Linked DNA regions of Homo sapiens: regions 2 and 3 are each linked to region 1. The links are contacts of gene promoters, found by promoter capture Hi-C in blood cells and fetal thymus (Javierre and others, 2016). All regions are on one chromosome and are shown on one strand. Each heading gives the region's core, a stretch centred on a gene start or on the middle of the fragment in contact. The rest is flanking DNA. Distances are from core to core; before and after follow the strand shown. Region 1 holds the start of ENOX2 (ecto-NOX disulfide-thiol exchanger 2). Region 2 holds the start of THOC2 (THO complex subunit 2). Region 3 holds the start of MMGT1 (membrane magnesium transporter 1).

Region 1 (3,091 bases), core at 251-2,750:
GAATTGATCTCAAATCAGGTTCCCTAGGATGAAAAGAAAAATCATCCAATCTTAATTTTTGCCTTCAATTTTATTTGATACAGAATAATATCCAAACTATGTGTATGTTTCAAAGTATCATGTTATTATGACCCCAAGCTTCTCCACCCTATTTATTTCCCAGTATATTTGTGCTGATATCTTTTATTCCAATCAGGCAAGCCCACCTGTCTCACAGTGCTCCCTCTTCTGTTTACCCTTCTCAAAGTCCAATCTCAGTAGCAGGAAGCATTTTCTCCCTCCTCTTTGACAACTTCAAATCCCCTGTACTCTGCTGGAGCCCAGATTAAAATTCACCTCCTTCACAAAGCCTGAAAGCCGGATGAGGGCTTCAGCACTTCCCGGGTTAGGCTTGAACTTCCATAGATGAACTCACCACCCCCATCAGTATGCTCTTCCACTGACCCCTCTTAGCGTTTTTTGCACACGTTTGTAATAATACAATGATTAATATGGTCTGTTTCACACGGTCTACTTTATTCTGTAGAATAAAGGTGTGCCCCCTAAATGTTTGTCAACATTAGTGCTATCAGTCTTTGCTGGAAACCCCTAAAGCGCTGGATTTTTATAACCAGTCTAACTTGCCTTTTACTCTCACCAGAACCCTGCACTGAACCTTAAACACACATTTCTCAAAAGCAAGATTCCTTCCCTCTTTTGCTTCCCATCCCTTCTAGAAATTGAGGGGAAACTCTCCCCACTTCAAAGACCTGGTGGGGGAAGTGGCAGGTGGCTGAGGGGCCAGTAAAGAGATGGCGATCAATTAAGGAGGCAAAAAGAGAAAGTTTGAAAAAAAAAAGTCACGCCCTGAGCGTGGCAAGGAATTCCCATGCCCCAAAGAAAATGGGGAGTGTAGCGCAGGGAGGGTTATGTGCCCAAACCTGAAATACAAATTGAGGGAAAAGAGGAAAGAGATCACCCAATTCCTGCGGTAAGAATTAGAGTCCAGTCACCGCCTAGGCAAAACCCTGGACGCAAACCCCAACTTCGGACCTCTGAGGAGGCACAGAGCCAGGGGGAGGGGGGCGGCGTCGTGGGAAAAAAAAAAAGGGGCGGGCGAGTTGGACCAAAAAAAAAAAAAAAAAAGAGCAAAGACAGCGCGCTCCCGGGCTCAAGAGAACTGGCGCCTAGAGCTCAAAAGCCCACCCCCGACTCCCAGTCCCGATACCCCCTCCCCTGCAGAGGTGGAGCTGGGTGGAGTTAGGCGCTGAGGACCGCGGCCCCGGAAGCACCCTCCTCCCTAGGCCCCCTCAGTCCCACAGTCCCCAGCCACGGCCACCGGGGCTTTCTGCCTCTCTGACCTCCAGCTCCCCGGCTACCGAAGCGCTAGTCCTTATACAGCCGCGGAAAATCGGGCCGGCGCGGCAGTTCCTGGGCTCGTAGTGCCCTCGCGGCGCCCCACGCCGCGCCACTCTCTTCCGAAATGCCCGCCTCGCGCTTCCAGGCCTAGACCCGGCACTCTGGCCCAAGGCTGGACTCTCACACACAGGGTGCCCACTGCGGCGTCTCCTATTGGCTACTGGTCACCGGGGAAGCCGGAGGCCCGAGCCCATGGCTTCATGGGAAATGTAGTTTGAGGTCGCTGGAGGCTGTTCTTCCTGGGGGTAACTCGTGTTGACATTGGCAGACAGACACAAGTGAGGACCGAGAATTATGGGAGATGGAGTTGCGGGACACTTATTTCTCTATACGCACAATTCTTCCCCTCCCCTTCCGATTGTCCCCAGCGTTCAGACGGGGAAGGGTATTCTGGGTATTGTAGTTTGGGTGCACTGTCTAGAGAATCTCTCTTGGGGTTATGGGTTTGTGCTTGTGGGGACAGACGAAGGCTCTAGATTTATTTTCATGTCGGTTAAGCTCTTAGCATTTTGCGGGAAGCACTTTCTATCGTGATTTGAAATTGTTATTGAGTTTTAAGTGTTTTTCAAAAGATGATGTTTATTCTTTGGTAAGCTTAGAATTTTAATTGAGAGTTATAGTCCTTTAAAATTGTTAAAGTGTGTTCCTTGTGAACCACCTGCATTAAAATCACTTGAAAGGTATGGAAGAATGTATATATTTTTTTCTAATTGGAAATTATAGTTCCCCCTGGAAACAGTGTCATAAATAGGCATAGAAATGTGATCTACACCAGCCCAGAAGAAGCCTATTTAATCCATAATGAAGCTATGTTGTTGCCATGAAAAACAGTGGCCACATAAACTGCTATAAATAACAATTTAGAACAGATAGACAATACAACTTAAGTACAAACGAGTAACTATATGTGTCTTTAAGAAACTTAACCTTTTGAGTAAAAATATGTTACAAGAGCTGGATAAAGACATAGGTGGGGAATGCCAAGCACTTCCAAGTGACTTAAAGGTTGAGGAAAATGGTTGTTTATTAGGGCTAATTTCACTCCCAACTTTTGACCTTTTTTTTTCTCTGTTAGAGATGAATCCTTGTAGCCTTGTTACAGTTGAATTACTACAACTTCTTGATGAGGACAACTTTTCGACTCACGAGTAAAATGAAGGGAAAGACAGGGGAATTGCATTTTGCTGAGGTAATTGCCCAATATTTTAAAAAGATAAGTGAAGGAGGAAGACGATTTAATAAATTCAACCATTTATTCAGCATAGTGCTTTGTGCAAAGCTCTGGGCTAGGCACTGTTGCCACAGAATTGGAAAAATAGTCCCTACCCTCAAGTAGCTCAAAATCCAGGTGAGGGGAGTTGTAGTAGAGGAGAATCTGGGGGGAGGAATAGATGAGTATACAATGTGCAAAATGCTGTAAAGAAGTCTACATAGGGTTCTATAGGAACATAGAGGAGGAAGAACTTGTTCTACTTCTGGAGAACTGGTTGAAGAACCAGTAAAATATTTGTCAGATTTGGGGCAGGGAGGTCAACCATATTCTATACAAAGCATATGCAAAGGCATAAAGGCATGAAAGAGTGCAGAGAACAATAGCAAAAGTTCCATATTGCAGAGACTAGATCAGGCAGCAACAAGGGGTCATATCAATTAGTTCATAATTTAACTTGAAAGTGGGAGAGAACCATCAGAG
Region 2 (3,091 bases), core at 153-2,652, 7.2 Mb before region 1:
ACTTACCCAAGGTCACTCAGCTACTTAAGTGGCTAAGACAGCCGCTTATTTAGGGAATTCTAGAGCTCACACTGTTAAGACTTCATACAGCAGTGCGGGGGGTGCGGGGGAGGAAGCCACATAGGCTGGCACTATTACAAGCGCGGGATCCGGCAACGCGTTCCTCGTGTTTCGTTCCAAGTAACGAAGTTACAAAGATTTGAATCTTTAGCATGAGCCACGGTAAACTGGCTACTAGAAATGGAGAGGGGTGGGCAAGGACGACAAAAATGGCTAACGAGGGTTAATTTCATCCAGGGTTGAGCTTTAGCATCTAAAAGCGACCCAGAGAAGGAAATGAGATGTTATTAATATTTGTTCTTATATCTGAGGTTTGCTTTGCTGCTTAAACGACTCCTTCCAGGGGAAGGGGAGGAGGGAGCGCTCTAACGTGGGGGCGAGAAGACTAGGGGTATGGCAAATTACTGTTTTCGGTGTTACGGGGGAAAGTTTCACGACTAAAGGAAACGCGTTATCCTAGGTACTGGAGAAGCTTGGAGAGCTGCCAGAATTAGTTGCAGTCCCAGGATAAAATGGGGTTTAGGGAACATTTAATGACGAAAGTTGAATCCAACCCGAAATAGCTCTAAGGTGAAAAGACGGAGCAAAGAAATGTCGGTGGTTCTTCAGGGAAAGCGGCAATCCCTGCCACACTTCCCCACGGCGCTACGCGAGGCCGGGACAGTCGAGAGACCGCTCCCCGGGAGGGCGAGAGGTGCCAAACCGGGTTCTTCGCGGCGCCCCGGGCTTCGCGGCAGCGGGCGAAGAGGAGGGGAGGGGAATCCGGGACGGTTCGCCCTCCTTGGACTTCAGGCAGAGGAGGCGCCAAGCTCCAAACTGCGGAGTCCAACGGGTGCAGAGTGAAGAAATGGCACAGAGAGAGATGGAAAGTCCGAATTGCCCCGGCTCAGCCCCATAAAGATAAAGGAGCCAAGTGAGATCAAGCGAAGAGGGGGACACAAAAAGAGACCAAGAGGGAGCGCGGAGACCTGCAGGGGCGGAATAAGAGTTCTACTAAGAGGCTAAAGGAAGCCGAGCTACCGCAGGCAGTAGCGATTTCTGGGAGGCCAGGGAAGGAAGGAGGTCCGCGGCGGTAAACAGCACCTCTCCCCGAGTTCGAAACTCCTAGACGACCATCCACGCCCGCCGCCCGGGTGGGGGAGGGGGTACATCTTTCCCCCTCAACCTCCCACTACAGGTGAGAGTGCAGCTGACGCCCTGGCCCGGCCCGGCAGTGCGCCTGCCTCCGGCCCGAACACTCACAATTCGCCTCTCCCTGATTTCTCCCAGTTCTTTATCCACTCTGCGGGAACCACCACAGCCGCGGCCGCCATCTTCCTCTCACTAGTAGCAGAAGCCCGGATGTGTAGCACGCGAGCGAAGGGTCAAAGGGGAGCACCGCCCACGAGGAATGCCGGGAGCTGAGAGTTCGTTTTTCGATTTCCCGCCCCACTTTCCTCTCCACCCAGCGGAAACCCGAGGCAAGGCAGCCAACGACGTGGAGACTCGCGGGCCCCTTTGCGAGGTTACTACACGGGTTGCGCCCTCCGAAGTCTTCGGCCTTACTTCCCATTAGAACAGAGAAATGCCATCCACAGGCCAACAAGTAGACTTCATCTTCTTCCGTAATATCTACCCCTAACCACTAATACAAACACGCATTTTTCAAGCACCTAATATGTGCTAGACACTGGGAATAGAGAAATAATAGTCTTTGGGAAAGCCATAAATATAAGCAAATAAATTACATTACGCCCTGCTGACTGCTGAGATAAAAGAAAATAATCGGGTCCCTCTCCTTCTCCCTCTCCCTCTCCCGTCTCCCTCTCCCGTCTCCCTCTCCCCACGGTCTCCCTCTCCCTCTCTTTCCACAGTCTCCCTCTGATGCCGAGCCAAAGCTGGACTGTACTGCCATCTCGGCTCACTGCAACCTCCCTGCCTGATTCTCCTGCCTCAGCCTGCCGAGTGCCTGCGATTGCAGGTGCGCGCCGCCACGCCTGACTGTTTTTCGTATTTTTTTGGTGGAGACGGGGTTTCGCTGTGTTGGCCGGGCTGGTCTCCAGCTCCTAACCGCGAGTGATCCGCCAGCCTCGGCCTCCCGAGGTGCCGGGATTGCAGACGGAGTCTCGTTCACTCAGTGCTCAATGGTGCCCAGGCTGGGGTGCAGTGGCGTGATCTCGGCTCGCTGCAACCTCCACCTCCCAGCCGCCTGCCTTGGCCTCCCAAAGTGCCGAGATTGCAGCCTTTGCCCGGCCGCCACCCCGTCTGGGAAGTGAGGAGCCTCTCTGCCTGGCCGCCCATCGTCTGGGATGTGAGGAGCCCCTCTGCCTGGCTGCCCAGTCTGGAAAGTGAGGAGCGTCTCTGCCCGGCCGCCATCCTGTCTAGGAAGTGAGGAGCGTCTCTGCCCGGCTGCCCATCGTCTGGGATGAAGTGAGGAGCGTCTCTGCCTGGCCGCCCATCGTCTGAGATGTGGGGAGTGCCTCTGCCCCGCCGCCCCGTCTGGGATGTGAGGAGCGCCTCTGCCCGGCCGCGACCCCGTCTGGGAGGTGAAGAGCGTCTCTGCCCGGCCGCCCCGTCTGAGAAGTGAGGAGACCCTCCGCCCGGCAGCCGCCCCGTCTGAGAGGTGAAGAGCGTCTCCGCCCGGCCGGCCGCCCCGTCCGGGAGGGAGGTGGGGGGGTCGGCCCCCCGCCCGGCCGGCCGCCCCGTCCGGGAGGTGACGGGCGCCTCTGCCCGGCCGCCGCTACTGGGAAGTGAGGAGCCCCTCTGCCCGGCCACCACCCGGTCTGGGAGGTGTACCCAACAGCTCATTGAGAACGGGCCATGATGACAATGGCGGTTTTGTGGAATAGAAAAGGGGGAAAGGTGGGGAAAAGATTGAGAAATCGGATGGTTGCTGTGTCTGTGTAGAAAGAGGTAGACATGGGAGACTTTTCATTTTGTTCTGTACTAAGAAAAATTCTTCTGCCTTGGGATCCTGTTGATCTATGACCTTACCCCCAACCCTGCGCTCTCTGAAACATGTGCTGTGTCCACTCAGGGTTAAATGGATTAA
Region 3 (3,091 bases), core at 256-2,755, 5.1 Mb after region 1:
CCTAGCTAGCTTGCTAGTTTGCATGAAGCCTCGCCTGCTTCTAACACTACCTTTAACCAGGAATTTCCTCATCTGTAAAATGAAGGGGTTGGACTTCAGTGAACTCCAAAGGCCCTTCTCGCCCCACAATCATATAATTCTACAGTTAAAGCTTACTGTAGAAAATGACACAGTACTCCAGTGTATCCTAATCTCTTCCAGGACAGTGTTTCTCAAACTAATGCGCATACAAATCACCCTGGGATCTTATTAAAACCCAGATTCTGATTGAACAGGTCTGGCCTGAGTATCTTCTAATTACCTGCCAGGTGGTGCTCATGATGCTGGTCTGTTGATCACACTGTAAGCAGCAAGGATCTAGGATACTTTCCTTAACCTCCCAGTTCCCCCAAAATATGACTGTCCCTGCTTCCATGCATCCTTATATACTTTTAGCATATCACTTTATTGTAACTACTTCTTGATCCACTTGTTTTCCTTTAGACTTTGAACTGGCTCAGGGCATCACTGTATCTCTAGCACCTAAACACAGCGCAATTTCAAACAGCGACCCAAAACTGAATTTCATAACGCAGTGTAGCACAAATCTTTTGCCCAACGTCACACAGATGTAGCGGTAATGCAAGTTTTTAACAACCAGTCCTTTAGACTCCCAGTCCAGTGCTCTTTCTCCTGTACCACAGTGCCTCCCTGAGGCAATCGGTCACTTAACTACTCAGTCTCTGCCTGGACAGCCCAAGAGTGCCCAAGATGTTGTCCACTTGGTTGTCGTGGGACCATGAGCAACCAGAGTCCTCAATCTCACAACTGTGCCTGATCTGCCCCATGCTGGATCTGACATCACTTGTCCTGGATTCCTGGAGACTCCTATTCTGAACCCTCTCCCAGACACCTCCTTCCAACCTTCCTGCAATTTCAGGTGCCACACTCTCTCCAAATTCAAACTCCGAACCTTCCACTGGGAACTCCTGCACTGATTTTCTTAGTCACCCCAAACTGTAAGGTCTCAAAGGACCATTAATCTGACACTCGGTCCGATGGTCCCTTAGAAGTGCGCCCACACACCGCCCCTAGGGTTCCACACCGAAGCGGTCCCCGTGCCCCAGGCACTTACGCTGCGCAGCGGAAAAGGCGGCGTGGGCTAGGGCAAAGAGACCGATGCCCACCAGCCCCTTCCACAGCGACGGCGCCATGATGCCGAAGGAGCAGCAGCCCAGCAAAAGAAGCGAAGGACGGCGGAGCTGTTTCTTCTTCCACCGGCGGGTGTCCGCGCGCCGCAGAAAGATGACGTCACTGAAGTCCTGAGCGCAAAGTGTCTCAGTGGTGGAAAAGCCAGAGGGCTGTGAGAAAACGGAAACAGGAATGCCGGGAAGAAGCAGAAAGCTACACGGAAAAAGGTCCGCGAGAACCCACGAACCTGCGCTATGGAGGCCTCTCTAGGAGGGCCGGAGCCCAACGGAGTCATAAACGAAGAGGCGAAAGCGGGAGCTACGGGGAAGCGAAGAGGAAGGGCGCCGGCAAATGGGGGCAGGGCCAGTGGCGAGAACAGGGTGGGGCAGAGGGACGGGGGCCTGCGTAGAGAACGTGTGGGGGCGAGGGGCGGGGTAGGCAGACGGGCGGGGTGGGGAAGACGCGCGGGGCCCGCACGAGGGTGGGTGTAGCCGAGGGGCGGGGCCAGTGGGTGGGTGGGTGGGCGTAGCCGGGGGGGGGGGGCCCTGGTGGGTGCGGTCGAGTGGCGGGGCCTGCGGGGAGGATGGGTGGGGCCGAGGGGCGGGGAGGAGGTGGGGCCGAGGGGCGGGGAGGAGGTGGGGCCGAGGGGCGGGGAGGAGGTGGGGCCGAGGGCGGGGCCTACGGGAGGATGGGTGGGGCGTAGGGGGCGGGGCGGAGGGGACGGAGAGTGGGTGAGGGCCGAGGGGGCGGGGAGGAGGTGGGACCGAGGGGCGGGGAGGAGGTGGGACCGAGGGGGCGCGGAGGAGTGGGACCGAGGGGGCGGGGAGGAGGTGGGGCCGAGGGGCGGGAGGAGGTGGGGCCGAGGGGCGGGGCTGGGGGCGTTGGGGAAAGGCGGTAGGTGCTGGATATAGACCCCTGACAGTTGTGTTTTGTGGGTTGGTTGGTTTTGGCTTTTTGTGAAACTGTGCCTTTTGTTTTCTGTAGGCCTTTCCTGTGCTTCAGCTCCCTGGAAACTGGCACTGCAGAAGGAGGCAAGGGTGTTAAAACGAGGAGGCAGTGTCAGGACAAAATCCCAGGATCTGGAACCCCAAATACTTGGCTCGCGGGAAGTGCTCAGTAAACCATTTTAAGGTCCTGGAGAAAGATTCGCGCAAAAAGAGGTGTAGCGCGGGGGGAGTGTTTTGTCGTGAAAAGAACCAGCTTACATTAAGGAAGAAATGAAAGAGGAAATTTTAAAATGCTAATAACGCAGCCTTCTTGCCTTGTCTCTATCTCTGATCCGGGTAAAATGTATACTCCTCTGCCCATTTTTCTTTGTCTTCATCTCCTGAAATGTAGACATTTAATAGTGAGCTTCTCCCCTTGACCTCATCACTCTGCTGTCCCCTGGGGAGCTCACCCATTCATTCCCACCGCTTCAGCCAGCAAAGGTATTACAGTGATTCCAAATCGACATCTCTATCACAAATATCTCTCCTTAGCTCCAGGGCTGCATTTCTGACTACCAGATAGGCATTTATTTCCTGTGGCACTTAAAACGTAATATGGCTAAAATGGAATTCATCCTTTTTTTCCAAATTCTGCACCAGTTCCTCCAGTGACCCCTGACTGAGTGGCAAAGCTTTGTAAACTGCATATCACAAGGTAAATGCAAAGTATGATCACCATTCTTTTCCTTTAACCCAATCAGAATTCTACGTTTTAGTTGCATCAATTTGCTTTTGCTCAAAGATGCGTCCTATCCTGACCACCCCTTTTAAATGTGCAAAATTCCTATTCCTGATCCCCTTATTCTGTTCTACTTTTTATATCACCTTCTAACATACTATATAATTTAACTATTTATGTTTGTTGTGTTACTGTTTACTGTCTGTCTTTCCCCACTGGAATGTAAGCTCTGAGAGAACAGAGATTTCTCTGT

What was found. Contacts are between HindIII fragments. The CHiCAGO score rates a contact against its expected background, and 5 or more counts as called.
Region 2: a contact is called between the fragment with the promoter of THOC2 here and the fragment with the promoter of ENOX2 in region 1, in 3 of 17 cell types (total CD4 T cells, non-activated CD4 T cells and naive CD8 T cells). The highest score is 8.9, in total CD4 T cells.
Region 3: the fragment with the promoter of MMGT1 here is called in contact with the fragment with the promoter of ENOX2 in region 1 in 1 of 17 cell types (activated CD4 T cells); the score reaches 6.1 in activated CD4 T cells.

What each region holds. Positions count from the first base shown.
Region 1 is chrX:130,901,709-130,904,799 of GRCh38, forward strand. ENOX2 (ecto-NOX disulfide-thiol exchanger 2) reads right to left here and starts at 1,501. Exons shown (of 15, transcript NM_006375.4): 1 at 1,341-1,501; 2 at 1-23. RefSeq lists enhancers at 867-1,386, 1,247-1,516, 1,387-1,906, 1,527-1,716. The HindIII fragment of the contact is 1,854 bases long and covers 137-1,990 here.
Region 2 is chrX:123,731,650-123,734,740 of GRCh38, forward strand. It overlaps THOC2 (THO complex subunit 2), which reads right to left and starts at 1,403. Exons shown (of 39, transcript NM_001081550.2): 1 at 1,303-1,403. The coding sequence starts at 1,373. RefSeq lists an enhancer at 1,339-1,418. The HindIII fragment of the contact is 10,140 bases long and covers 531-3,091 here.
Region 3 is chrX:135,972,483-135,975,573 of GRCh38, forward strand. MMGT1 (membrane magnesium transporter 1) reads right to left here and starts at 1,506. Exons shown (of 4, transcript NM_173470.3): 1 at 1,115-1,506. The coding sequence starts at 1,193. It also overlaps a transcript of SLC9A6 not described here. RefSeq lists an enhancer at 1,055-1,584 and a silencer at 1,595-1,704. The HindIII fragment of the contact is 2,640 bases long and covers 150-2,789 here.